3 separate regions of the Homo sapiens genome follow, and all the other regions are linked to region 3. The links are contacts of gene promoters, found by promoter capture Hi-C in blood cells and fetal thymus (Javierre and others, 2016). All regions are on one chromosome and are shown on one strand. The core of a region is centred on a gene start or on the middle of the fragment in contact, and the rest is flanking DNA. Distances in the headings are between cores, read along the strand shown. Region 1 holds the start of MTG1 (mitochondrial ribosome associated GTPase 1). Region 2 holds the start of BNIP3 (BCL2 interacting protein 3). Region 3 holds the start of BCCIP (BRCA2 and CDKN1A interacting protein).

Evidence for each region. The method cuts DNA at HindIII sites, captures the fragments that hold promoters and counts their contacts. A CHiCAGO score of 5 or more calls a contact.
Region 1: a fragment that was not itself captured here is called in contact with the fragment with the promoter of BCCIP in region 3 in 1 of 17 cell types (fetal thymus); the score reaches 5.2 in fetal thymus.
Region 2: a contact is called between the fragment with the promoter of BNIP3 here and the fragment with the promoter of BCCIP in region 3, in 2 of 17 cell types (total CD8 T cells and naive CD8 T cells). The highest score is 8.8, in total CD8 T cells.

Annotation. Positions count from the first base shown.
Region 1 is chr10:133,393,949-133,398,618 of GRCh38, forward strand. MTG1 (mitochondrial ribosome associated GTPase 1) reads left to right here and starts at 209. Exons shown (of 11, transcript NM_138384.4): 1 at 209-384; 2 at 1,765-1,829; 3 at 2,215-2,319; 4 at 4,487-4,567. The coding sequence starts at 273. RefSeq lists silencers at 1-350, 411-610 and an enhancer at 935-1,889. The HindIII fragment of the contact is 1,143 bases long and covers 1,038-2,180 here.
Region 2 is chr10:131,980,006-131,984,672 of GRCh38, forward strand. It overlaps BNIP3 (BCL2 interacting protein 3), which reads right to left and starts at 1,918. Exons shown (of 6, transcript NM_004052.4): 1 at 1,756-1,918. The coding sequence starts at 1,801. RefSeq lists an enhancer at 1,097-2,021 and silencers at 1,429-1,658, 1,889-2,188, 2,239-2,428, 2,469-2,588. The HindIII fragment of the contact is 3,266 bases long and covers 1,168-4,433 here.
Region 3 is chr10:125,821,127-125,825,480 of GRCh38, forward strand. BCCIP (BRCA2 and CDKN1A interacting protein) reads left to right here and starts at 2,420. Exons shown (of 7, transcript NM_078468.3): 1 at 2,420-2,596. The coding sequence starts at 2,432. UROS (uroporphyrinogen III synthase) reads right to left here and starts at 2,132. Exons shown (of 10, transcript NM_000375.3): 1 at 1,903-2,132. RefSeq lists silencers at 1,779-2,208, 2,965-3,184 and enhancers at 2,060-2,745, 2,289-2,488. The HindIII fragment of the contact is 3,281 bases long and covers 2,204-4,354 here.

The sequences.
Region 1 (4,670 bases), core at 359-2,858, 7.6 Mb after region 3:
ACCCAGGAACCTCCCCGTCCCCCCGGGTCTCCTCGCAGTCCCGCCCCGACGCTCGACCCACCATTCGTCCCTCCCTCTGGGCCCGGGCCCCGCCCACTCCGGGCTTCGCCGGAGGCGGAGGCAACGTCGTGCGCACGCGCAGGCCGTGGTGCGGCCCCTTGGAGCGCCGGAAGCCCGCAGTGCCGGAGGCCCGCAGCGCCGGAACCTCAGAGGCGGGTCGCAGCGGCGCAGAGGAGGTCAGCTGCGGGAGCGTTTCCGGGGACGGTGCCGCCATGAGATTGACCCCGCGCGCGCTGTGCAGCGCCGCCCAGGCCGCCTGGCGGGAGAACTTCCCCCTGTGCGGTCGCGACGTGGCGCGCTGGTTCCCGGGCCACATGGCCAAGGGTGAGGCACGGCGGGGAGGGGCAAGGTCATGCCTACGGCCGCGGCGCCTCTGCTTCCCTCCCACCCCGGTTTCGGCCGTCGCCTGCTTCTCCCGGTCGTTCTGGGCTGGCCCCGCCCCTCCTCCCTTGTCTCCCCTCCTTCCCCGCTCTCACCCGCTCCCGGAGCCGCCGGGACCCCTTCCCCTGCGCAGCTGCGGGAGAGGCCCGTTCCCGCGAGTGCCCCCGCGGCGCAGCCTCGGACCCAGGGCCTGCTTGACCTCCTACCTCTGGCCCGCCGCCCCTGTCCTCTGTTCCCAGCAAGTTCCTTCTGCCCTTTTAATCCCCCGAAGCCTCCGTTTCCACATGTTCTTGACAAGATAGACTTTTCTGAGTCTTTTGGGGACTAAATGAAACAGTGGGTATGAAGGCACCTGTTCAGTTTTAACTGGTATCTTGAGTCGTTCTCCTGCTTAACGTCTTTGGTAATTCTTACTGTTTGTCACAATTCGGCCCCAAGAAGACCTCTGGGGCCAGCCCAGCCCGTCTAGGTGTTGTGATGGCCACTCCTGCGTCGGCTCCGCGTGTACTGGGGGCCGAGGGGGAAGAAGGGCCCGTGTGGGTGACTGAGGCTGTGTCCTCGGTCTTCGGATAACACTGGAGGGGAAGAAAGCTGGAAGCTTTGTTATCTTGGTTGTGTGTGGTATTCCTGGTTAGGGGACTATCGTCATCATCCCCGCGAGGTAGCAGGGGCCTAATGAGCCAGTGTTACTCTGTGTTATAGCCCAGATTAAGACCCGTGGAAGGGCCCGGCCCGGTGGCTCACGCTTGTAATCCCAGTACTTTGGGAGGCCGAGGTGGGCAGATCACGAGGTCAGGACATCGAGACTATCCTGGCCAGCATGGTGAAACCGTGTCTCTACTAAAAATACAAAAAATTAGCCCGGCATGGTGGCGCGTCCCTGTAGTCCCAGCTACTCGGGAGGCTGAGGCAGGAGAATTGCTTGAACCTGGCAGGCGGAGGTTGCAGTGAGCCGAGATCGTGCCACTGCACTCCAGCCTGGGTGACAGAGCAAGACTCCGTCTCAGAAAACAAAAAAGCGACCCATGCACGTTAAATATTCCACCCAGAGTCAGCCATGAGTCAGGTGGTGAAGACCGCATCTGGCTTTTGACACATGGCCCACCCTGTGGCAGGGTGCCTCCCAGTCTCCCACTCCGAGGGTGCGGACCTTGGAGGAGGCGCTCAGCGGATGTTATCTGTTACCATTACTTAGTACGCTTCCCTCAGATATAGTCTTTTTAGGTTATTTATGGTGGCGTGTCATTCTGGACGGTTCAGCTTGAATCGATCACTCTAGAAAGGTTGTGAGCCCCTTCGCTGAGGCGTCCTTCTGTTTTCCAGGGCTGAAGAAGATGCAGAGCAGCCTGAAGCTGGTGGACTGTATCATCGAGGTCCACGATGCCCGGATATCCTTTCACAGAGCAGGGGAGGCCCCTCTGCCTGAAGTCATATTACACATTAGAATTACCTGGGGAGGCTTTTAAAAATATGAATTGCGAGGCCCCTTTCTAGACCAGTTAATCAGAATCTGTGATGTGGGGTCCAGACTGCGTGTCTTTGAAACTTCATTGTTAATACATATATCTGCGTCACTCAAGCCTGACGGTACGGTGCAGCAGTGGAATCCTCTAGATGGGCTATGAAACTGTTTAAATGTTCCTGCCAACTGGGGCTTTTCTCCTGTACTTGAGGAATGAATTGGCAGGATGTGATGATTCGTTCACTGATGGCAAGAAAAAAAGTTGGTTGGCTGGTAAAGCTTTGGAGGAATTTTTACCTTAATTTTGCCACATCCCACTTTCAGGCCGCAACCCTCTGTTTCAGGAAACCCTTGGGCTTAAGCCTCACTTGCTGGTCCTCAACAAGATGGACTTGGCGGATCTTACAGAGCAGCAGGTAAAGGCCTTTCTCTCAGACGCCTTCAGCAGTGTGGCTGTGTTTTCCCGAGGTCGCTTGTTCTAACGGAAGAGTTGCCGGACGCACACTTGTCAGTTTGCCCAGGCAGGCTCTGCTTTAGAAACAGCCCTTTGCTTTGCAGAAGCGTGCCAGCATCGTTTCTCATATGGCGTGCCCCCATCTAATGTGTGGTTCGTGACCTGGACACCCAGGGAGTGCACGTCTCCTGTGGGAAGTGGCCAGGTTGTGCTGCCAGAGCCCGAGTGGTCAGTGAGTGCGCATTGTGGGCAGCAAGCCACCCAGGTGCCGAGGCAAGAGACCGAGGACACGAGCTTTTCCAGTGTAATAAAACATATGAAATAAGAATAGTTATACTAGATATAGGTCATAGATATGATTGTATATGAATATTACTAATCATTAGTTTGTAGCAATTACTCTTCATTCCAATATTATTATAATTCTTGCTCTATAATCATAACCTAGGAAAAACCAGGCCATACAGAGATAGGAGCTGAGGGGACATAGTGAGACGTGACAAGTGTGTGAGCCTTCTGTTATGCCCAGACAGGGCCACCAGAGGACTCCTTGGTCTAGCGGTAACGCCAGTGTCTGGGAAGACGCCCGTTGCCAAGCCGACTGTGGTCTAGCGGTAGCGTCAGTGTCAAGGAAAAGCACCCGCTACTTAGCAGACCGGGAAAGGGAGTCTCCCTTTCCCCAGGGGAGTTTAGAGAAGACTCTACTCCTCCACCTCTTGTGGAGGACCTGACATCAGTCAGGCCTGCCCGCAGTTATCCGGAGGCTTAACTGTCTCCCTGTGATGCTGTGCTTCAGTGGTCACGCTCCTAGTCCGCCTTGATGTTCCATCTTGTACACCTGGCTCTGTCTTTTAGATAGCAGTAGCAAAATTAGTGAAAGTACCGAAAGTCTCTGATAAGCAGAAATAATGGCGTAAGCTGTCTCTCTTTCTCCCTCTCTCTCTGCCTTGGCTGCCAGGCAGGGAAGGGCCCCTTGTCCAGTGGACACATGACCCACGTGACCTTACCTGTCATTGGAGATGGCTCACACTCCTTACCCTGCCCCTTTTGCTTTGTATCCAATAAATATTAGTGCAGCCAGACATTTGGGGCCACTACCGGTCTCTGCATCTTGGTGGTAGTGGTCCCCCAGGCACAGCTGTCTTTTCTTTTATCTCTTTGTCTTGTGTCTTATTTTCTTTTTTTTTTTTTGAGGCAGAGTCTTGCTCTGTCGCCCAGGCTGGAGTGCAGTGGCGCAATCTTGACTCACTGCAAGCTCTGCCTCCCGGGTTCACGCCATTCTCCTGCCTCAGCCTCCTGAGCAGCCGGGACTACAGGCGCCCGCCACCATGCCCGGCTAATTTTTTGTATCTTTAGTAGAGACGGGGTTTCACTGTGTTAGCCAGGATGGTCTCAATCTCCTGACCTCATGATCCGCCCGCCTCGGCCTCCCAAAGTGCTGGTATTACAGGCGTGAGTCACTGCGTCCAGCCTGTTTTTTTTTTTTTTTTAAATCATCGCAAGTGTTTTCACTAGTTGGTACTTTTACGTCATATCAGTGGCAACTCCTGCCTTTGAAAATGTGACTTTTTGTAGACTGGTGGGTGGCCGTCTAGTATAGGGCACAGCAGTGTCTGACCTGGTCAGAGAAAGGCCAGTGCTTCTGAAGAATCGGGAGAGAGGTAGACTTGCCCCTGGGTGGCCCTGCCTTCTGCCTCCCTGAGCAGGGACACCCAAGTACATTTACTACCCAGAGTGTGTGGCTTCAGGTGTGTGTCTTATGTTTGATCTCTCCATCCGTGTCATCTTCGTGGACAGCTAAATAAAACCAGCTGAATCAGTGAAGGACTTGTTGATTTAAACATCAGTCATACTTTAGGTCAGATGATTAACAGCACTGATGTTTAGAAATATGATACTGCTTTGCACTAGTTTCACTGCATGTTAAGGCCAGTGAATTCAAAAATTATCTGGGCGTGGTGGCGCATGCCTGTAATCCCTGCTACTTGGGAGGCTGAGGCATGAGAATCGCTTGAACCAGGGAGGCGGAGGTTGCAGGGAGCCGAGATTGTGCTACTGCACTCCAGCCTGGGTGACAGAGCCAAGACTCCAGTAAAAAAAGTAACATAGAAATGTTTTGTGTCTTTCAGAAAATTATGCAACACTTAGAAGGAGAAGGCCTAAAAAATGTCATTTTTACCAACTGTGTAAAGGATGAAAATGTCAAGCAGGTAGGCTTTTCGTCTGTGCTCTCTCTGACGCTTCTGCTTCAGTAGGTTCGAGGAGCATTATAAACTGTTTTATGCTTTAGTAAGAAGCAGAGCTTTGGAAAAG
Region 2 (4,667 bases), core at 668-3,167, 6.2 Mb after region 3:
CAGTGGCCCCGTCCTGCCGCGCGGACACTCAGGGCGGCCCAAGGAATCGCCTACATGGGATCCACCCCGCGGGTAACTATCTTTTTATAGAATAAACAAAACAGAAAAACAAAAATCTCGTAACTCCGGCGCTGGCCGCCTTGCACTGCCAATGACTCAGCAGCCTGTGTAAGTTACATATTGGAGAGAGGACCGAGCCCCCCGGAGCCCCCTCCACCTCCCAGCGCCCAGATCCCAGCCGGACAGTGAAACGCACAATGTCAGGAGTAACGCGGCTTCACAACCGGAAAATGGGTGATTTTATGGCAAAGAGTTTATAAAAACATCCCTTGGACTTTATTTTATGACAAAAGATAGGAAAACACCTCTTAATCTATTTCAAAATAGTAATTAGCCAATGTTTAAATTTCAAGAGGAAAAATCCGAATTACAGGATTTTAAAGAATATGGTTTTAGGCCAGGCGCGCCTGGTGGCTCAGGCCTATAATCCCAGCACTTTGGGAGGCCGAGGCGGGAGGATCGCTTGAGCCCAGTTCAGACCAGCCTGGGCAACACAGTGAGACCCCGTCTCTTAAAAAAAAAAAAAGGTAAAAAAAAAAAGCTTGTAGTGTTCATATGTATATATATATATTATTCAATATATTACGGTAACTAAGTCCTGCCTAGTAAAATCTTTTTTTTTGTAATAAAATTAGCAACTCACTAAATTTATGTGAATATATGGTTTTAAAAACTCTCAATGAAGATTAAAAGTTCACTGTCAGAGGTTTCAGCAGTCCTTTCCCAAGCTTATTTACATGCTAATTTTGCTTAGTAAACTCTGGCTTCAAAGAACACAAAGGTCAGCTGCCACCAGGTCCCTCCTCCGAGGCTTTGGCCCTAGGGACCCTGGGAAGGCGGCTTCAGTGCCCGCTTCCCTGAGCAAAGGCTCGTCTGGACTCTGACGCGGACCCACCGGGTGGGGTGGGTCTCCACGCCACCCGGCTGTGCGTGGGGCAAGTCCTGCACCCCGGGCCTGCGTTTCCCGCTGCGTGAACGGATGGTCTTGCGAATCTAGCCAAGGGCACACAGCGAGCCTCTACTCGGGCATTAGGCAGGCTGTAACGACTGAGTGCTGCACGGGCAGCGTCCTTTTGCTTGTGTTTTCTTAACCCGTAAGTCATTTAAAGCTTTGTTTTGGAACGACCCTCTAGTGAAATTGGAACATGCCCATTTAATGCCATATTTTAAAAACGCTGTAACCCCCTCCCATCTCCGCGTTCACCCTTGAGGAAATCCTAACAGTCACCATGGATATAAACATTAATAACAAAATTAAAGCTCATAACAGGCCACTTGCCACGCCTTGGTGTTTGGTCATTAAAACCAATACTGGTCTGAACTACAGACCGCGGAGGGCAACGTGGACTTTGAGGCTGTTCGGTCCAACTGCGAGACGCAGATTCACCTCCAGGTGGAATTCTAGCTCGCGCGGAGCTGGAGAATCGGGGCTTTCCCGTGCGGTCCGACCCGGGTCCAAGCCAACCCCCGCCCGAGTGGCGAGGCCGCGAACCCCGGGCAGTACGCGGGGTCCCCACGCCCCGGGCTCCGCATGCCCGCAGGAGGGGTGGGTACGGAAGGGGAGGATGGCGCAGCCTCGCCCGGCCCGCGATGCCCCCTAGGCCTCCCCGGCAACCTCCCCTTGGCGCCCTCTTGGCCTTCCCCAGGCTTCCCCCCCGCGCCCCCTCGGCTCCCGCGCCGCCTCCTCCGCCTCACCCTGCAGGCTCTCCTCCTGCATCCCGGGCGCTCCGTTCTGCGACATGGCGCCAGAGGGCAACTGCGGCGATCGGAGTCCGCGCCGGGCTGCGGGATGTGCTTCAGCTGCGGGCGGTGGGAAAGCGGAGGTCGGAGCGCCGCGGCCCAGCTGCGCTCCCGGACTGAGCGGAGCCCCGCAGCCCGGCCGGAGGAACTCACAGGGCAGGGCGGGGCCGGGCGGATCTGCGGCCGCGTCGCCCATTGGCCGCGACTTGGGGCCTGCGCGTGCGCAGGGGCGTGGGGTGCGTGTGGCACGTGCGGCGCGTGCGCGGGGCGGGTCCTGCGGTGGGCGAGGGGCAGAGGCCTGCGGTGCGCGGGACGCGGGCGGGGAGAGGGGCGGGGCGAGGGGCGCGCAGGCGCGAGGGCGGCAGCGACCGCCTGAGGTGAGCCGGCCCGGGCTGGACGCCGCGGGCCGCGTGACGAGTGGGCTGCGCGGTCGCCGCCGCGGCGGGCGGTGGGCCGGGTTCTCCTTTGAAGGGGCGGTGGGACCGGCGGACTCTCTGGGCACTGGCTACCACGGAGACGCCGCTACGCTTCGGGGCGGGGCCCGTCTTTCCATCCTGCTAGTGGGGAAACTGAGGCGCGGGGCTGGCGGCGTCCGTGCGGGGGGCGTGAGGACGTGCAGGGAAGCGGCCGCTGCGGCTCCGAGACGGCCCGTGGGGTCGGGACCTGCGCCCGGGGCGGGAGCTGCGAGCGGTGGGCCGGAGCTGAGCGTCTCGGGACGGGACCGCGTCCCCGGGTCTTTGCCCGCCCCGCCGGGGCGCCCCTGCGTGAACAGCGGGGCCCGTTGTGTCCGGGGCGTCCGCCCGCAGGAAGAAGCGGAGGCTCGAGCAGAGTCGAAAGAGTCTGCCCGAGGGAGGCGCGGACCCCAGGGGCCCGGGAGAGGCGCGCCGTCCGCCTCTGCGGCAAGGGGCCTCCGGGGTGCAAACGCGGTGTGGGGCGGGCGTCCCCGGGGTGGGACGCCCCGTCCACGGGGCGGAGTGGCGCTTGGTCGGGCCGGGTGGGTGCCCGGCTTCCGTGGGAGCCAGCCTGGCGTGGGGGCCTCGCAGCCTCGGGACTGGGAGGCACTTTTCAGAGGAAAGTCGCTTTCTCATTTCCCGCTTTTGATCAAAAGTCTTTCTTCTTGAAAGCATTGTTGATCCAAATCCAAGTGTCAAGGTGCGCCCCAGAAACGCTGCTTCCCAGACAGTCGTGTCTGGTCTTGCGGGAAAGGAGGAGGCGTCCCGCCAAGGAACCAGGCGCTCAGAAGCTGAACCGGGGTCACAGAGCCGCGAAGCCAGACCTCAGTCGCTGCGTGCATTTCATCCCTGCTCTTGCCTGTTGAATCGTCTCTAGTCTTTGGAGTGCCATGATTTTAGTTTTCTCAGGAGTAACAAACATCCAGAGGCCAGTGTGGGGCGCATGTCTTTCATCTCAGCACTTTGGGAGGCCGAGGCAGGAGGATCGCTGGAGCCCAGGAGTTGGAGACCAGTCTGGGCAATATGGCGAAACGCTTTCTCTCCCCTAAAAAAATACAAAAAACTTAGCTGGGTATGGTGGCACCTGCTGTGGGAGGATTCCTTGAGCCCAGGAGGTAGGGGCTACAGTGAGCCATGATCAGGCCACTACCCTCCAGCCTGGGCAACAGTGTGAGACCCTGTCTCAAAAAAAAAAAAAAAAAAACCGCCAGAGATACATAGCATAGCATTAATAATTTCGATAGTAGAACTGTAGTGCTGGCCAGGCAGTGGTTCTTGTGTGTAATCCCAGCATTTGGGGAGCCCAAGGCAGGAGGGTCACTTGAGCCTGATAGTTCAAGACCAACCTGGCAACACAGAAAGACTCCATCTCTATTAAAACAAAAATGTTACCAAGTACGGTGCACATAAGGATTACAATGAAAAAGAGAATGTGTATGCCAGAATGAAAAACGGAACCTATTCGAGGGAGTCAACTAAAAGTATTACGAAGAAAATCAAATGGAGAATTGTTCAGAATAGTGTAGCCTAGTGGCTTGTACTTTTTCCCATATGAGTTTCTACTTCGTGGAAAGGGTTTATGCACATCAAGAGGTATTTGCCACCATACATAGACTTGCTTGCTCAGCTAATAATCGAAAGCAATGCAGTCGTCCAGTGCAGCCTTAGCCAGTGAGTCAGTAGCTTTTTGTTGGGCTGTGATGGAGGCAGCAGTTTCATCAGCAATATTTCCTGATAGGCCAGATATGCTCGCAGTCATCCCAAGTAAAAGCAAACAAATACTGACTCTAGGTCCACTGGAATACTAAAGAAGGCACTACATAAATGAGTCACAGTGTCTCACTTCCAGCTGCCGAAAGAGGATGGGGCTTTGGTACTACCAGATGTCTGGGGATCACAGTGTTGATGACGGTTCTCAAATCTTGTACAGAATACCAGCTCTTCCCATTCGGCTTCCTTACAAGAAGGATTGGAGTATTACATGCTGGCGCAAGGAATAATTAGACCCCTTTTAATATAGTCTTTTGTTACGGATCTTATTCCTTCATTTGCTTCAGGCCTTAGAGGATATTGTCTGATATTGGGTAAAGGATTAATCAGGTTTACTTCCACTTTAATGAAAGTGGCTGAATATATTTTACTAATGTCGGTGGAAGACTCTGACCATAAGTGGTCTGACAAAGCTTGCCCTAAGCCATCCGTGTCATTAGTGCCAGTTGAAAAAAAAGTTGTTTGATCTGTATTTTTATAATTTCAGTAATTTCTCATTCTGTAGTTTTTCCATTTGCTCCTTCCATTCTAAACCTAAATCCATTTCTTCCTTTTGGGAGAAGGAAAGCATGCATTGTGACGTTCCAACACAAAATGTCTGCCTAAGAGATGTCTGAGAGGTGGGGGAATGAAGAAAAGAATGAG
Region 3 (4,354 bases), core at 1,170-3,669:
CCCTGCTACATATATACCCCAAAGAATTGAAAGCAGGGACTCGAACAGATATTTGATACTCATGTTCATAGCAACATTATTTACAACAGCTAAAATGTAGAAGTAACCAAAATGTTTACCGACAGATAAGTAGATAAACAAAATGTGGTCTATACATGCAATGGAGTATTATTCAGCCTTAACAAGGAAGGAAATCCTAATGCATGCTACAGCATGGGATAAACTTTGAAGACATCATGCTGAATGAAATAGTCACAAAAGGAAGAATATTGTGTTACTCCACTTACATGAGGTTTCTAGAATAGTCAAATTAATAAAGATGGAAAGTAGAAAGGTCATGGAGGGAAAATAAGGGAGTTGTTTAACTACAGTTTCAATTTTGCTAGATGAAAAGAGTTCTGCCAATGGATAGTGGTGGTGATGGTTGCACAATGTGAATGCACTTCATGCCACTGAACTGTATCTTTAAAAATAGTTAAGATGGTAAAATGTATGTTATGTATCTTTTACCACCATAAAAAAAGTATAAAGAAACAGGAAAAAAAATTGGCTATGGTATCTCAGTGCAACTCTGTTGATATGTTCACATGGTCTTTCTGAGTCTTTTTTCTAATCTTAGCCTTTTGATGGGTCTTTTTTGACAGCTTCCTCTCTTCTCCATTACAGGAACATGTTTTTGCAGTTGTGCGACCCAAAGAGGCCATTTCAAGCTGCCCCATCAGATGTGGAGCGCTGATGTGTAAGTATTACTTTAATATCCATGACATGGCTGGGTAGACAAGAGACTCCCAGGAAAGACCGAAATCACAGAACACGATTATGGGCAATCTGGGCTCCTGGGGACCTTTAGGGCACGCCATCTCGTACTGATGAAGGATCACTGATTTATCAGATGTTACCCTGCTTAAACAGAAGCAGCCTATTAGCGCAGCTCACACCATTCCTAGAATCAAACATATCCAACCCACCCCCCTCATTTTACAGAGAAAAATCAATTGAGAACCGCAGATCTTATTCCTAGAAAGCTGATGAACCCTGTTTCTCTCGCAATGGGAAGACCTGGCTGCCCCAGGCTGCATCCCCACCTGCCACAGGGGCTGGCGCTCGCTCTGCAGTTGGCCGCAGTCCCCTCCACTCTTCTCTCCAAATAGGCTCGGGTCTTTAACCTAGACTACCCCACTGGCCCCGAAGCATTTTTTTTTTTTTTTAGATAGGGTCTACCTCTGTCGCCCAGGCTGGAGTGTGGAGTGCGGTGGCGCGATCTCGGCTCACTGCAACCTCCGTCTCCTGGGGGCATGCGATTCTCCTGCCTTAGCCTCCTGAGTAGCTGGGACTACAGGCGCGCACCACCACACCTGGCTAGTTTTTGTATTTTTAGTAGAGATGGGATTTCGCCATGTTGGGCAGGCTGGTCTCGAACTCCTGACCTCAAGTGATCCACCCATCTCGGCCTCCCAAAGTGCTGGGATTACAGGTGTCCGCCACCACGCCCGGCTAATTTTTGTACTTTTAGCAGAGATGAGGTTTTGCCATGTTGGCCAGGCTGGTCTCGAACTCCTGACCTCTGGTGATCCACCCGCTTTGACCTCCCTAAGTGCTGGGATTACAGGCGCGAGACACCGGGCCCGGCCCCCCGCCGAAGCATTTTTAACTGCGGTGCCGGCTTTAAAAAAACTTTTAGGTCAAGAAATGCGCTCCAGAAGCTCGGCGAGGGTAGGCTGGGCAGGCGCCTTCCGTCACCGGCGCAGCGGTAGCGGCAGCGGACATCCCCGCCTGGGCAGGCCCAGGTCCGCGGAAGCCTCGGGGCCCTGGCCCCACTGTGTCACACACCGCCCGGGGCCGGGCCCCTGCACGCCCGCGGGCTTCGGCGTCCGTACCGGTACAGCGGGCGGCGACACCTACCTCGCGGGACCGTGCCCAGCACCCGGCCTGGCACACAGCGGGCACCCGGTCGGGGGGCGGTGTCGCGCAGTCCCAGCGAAAAGGCTGCAGGAGCAATGACAACAGGGGCGGAAGCCCCCTCCCCACGCAGCCCGAGGGGCCGCGGCGGCCACCCGCGCCGGGCCCCAGGACCCCGCACCTCAGACTGGGGTCGCGTGGGTGGCTGCGCGCAGCTAGGCGCTCGCGCATGCGCACCGCCATCCAGGCCACGGAATGAGGCCAGAGGTTAGATGGGTTGAACCACTACGGGAAGGGGAGGGGAAGCTTTGGGAGGAGTGATGGAGGGTGGAAAGCGGAAGAAAAAAGCAAGATGGGACCGCAAGCTGGACGTGACTGTAAGGGGTCATGGCTGCGGAATCCAGCAGGGGCATTGGGGTTGACGTGCACTCAGCGCCGAGCTTCTTCGTAGTTCCTCACCCCCTTGGCTACTATGGGCTGGTCCGGAAGGTCAGGCAAGGGGAAGCTGCGCAGGCGCAGTGTGAGCGGCAACATGGCGTCCAGGTCTAAGCGGCGTGCCGTGGAAAGTGGGGTTCCGCAGCCGCCGGATCCCCCAGTCCAGCGCGACGAGGAAGAGGAAAAAGAAGTCGAAAATGAGGATGAAGACGATGATGACAGTGACAAGGAAAAGGATGAAGAGGACGAGGTCATTGACGAGGTGAGAAGGACACGCTCCCCTAGTTGGTTTATACCTGAGAAAAACTTTTTGGCAAGCCCAGGCTGTGTAAAAATAGTGTAGGGTCTTCCCTGACCCTGAGGGTCTGTGAGGAGAAACTGGAGATAAGTTCTTTCTCAGGTTTCTCCTCGGTCTTTAACACACTGCAGCCATAGTAGTTATTTTTTAAAGGTCTAGTCCGGTCCAGTTAATCTCCCAACCCGCGTCCTCCCCGAAAAAGCCCGCCACAACAGGTGTGTTCTTCTCGTCCTCTTTAGTTCTCAGGCTGAAGCCTCAGATCCTGAATCGGCCACCCCGGGCTCGCAGAGGGGGCCCTCTCCCCTCGGGGCAGCAGCTGTCCTCCTCTTCACTCTGCGGGCGGCACTCACTTGGGCCCTCAGTTTCTTGAAGGCTCTTGCCGCGTTCTACCGTAGAAGCCTTTTCAAATGCTCTTCTTTATCCTGCAGTTTTCCCTTCCTTCTTCAGATCTCAGCTAGGCTGTATTTTCTGGCTCCTGGGGCAGCTGACCAAGTCGTGGGTAAATCTTTGGTTTCATAGTCTCATAGAACTGTGTTCCTTTCTTCAGACTAGGTCCTACCGTAGTGCCTGGCAATATAGGTACTTATTATTTGTTTAGTAAACAATTAGGACTGAATGATCCTTCAGCCTACTGAATGTTTAAATAGATACCTCAGCCTTAACTTGTCCAAAGCAGAATTTGTATAATAATTCATGCCCCTCTCTTAATCGTCACCATTTCTATAAATGGCCCCTAAAGTCACCAGCTGCTCTAACCCAAAACCTGGGGCTTAACTTTAATTCCTCCCTTTCCTCATCCTATATCCAGCCCATCAGTAAATCCTGTTATCCAGACATTTCTCAGCACTAATTCTGAGACCATCGTAGTCCACACCTCTATCATCTCTTGCCTGGACTACTATTTAATGTAACAGCTTTTAACCGGCGTTCTTTTCTCCATTTTTGTTCCCCTACAATCAGTCTATACTCCACTTACAGTCAGAGAGATCTTATAGGTCTGATCTCAGGCCTCTGCTTAGATTGCTGCATTGGCTTTCTAGTTCATTTACAAGAAAATCAAGAGTCTTCACAATTGAGGGACGGAAAGGCAGCCTAGATGGCTGGATCAGAATAAGGAAGAGAGAGTGATAGGAAATAAAATCAGAGAGGTAATCATGAGTCATGATGAGCATGGAGGGGAGCATGGAGAGAAGCATGGATGCAGGATTAGAGGTGACACCATGGTGTGGGTATGTGATCAATCTTCCTTCCCTTACAAATTTTACTTTGGCTCTATGCCTTGAATGCCATCTCACCATTTTTCACTTAGAACTTTGACTGGCTCTTTTATTACTTTTGGGTTATAGAAATCAATGCTGCTTGTGTTAACATGGGAAATCTATCACACCACCACAGTCTTAATTCTAAATCACCTGGGAATGAGGGACAGGGCTCTTTTCTACAAACGTGACTGTTCCTGCTGAAGCCATGTGGAGATGAGCCCATACCCAGGAAAAGGGTGCTGGACAGATAATCCATTTGCCGCCCATTTCCCTGGTGGTGCCATAATAGTCTGGGACAGAGGTCCGAGATGTCTGTCTAGACAAAGAAAAAAACACTAGATGAGCATTATTTACAGAATGTATTTATATCTAAGGAATAAGTTTAAGTCCTGAATAATGACAGTTTGTTATTTGGTTTAGTTTGATCCTGTTTGGAACACTCCCACCCGACCCCTTGTGT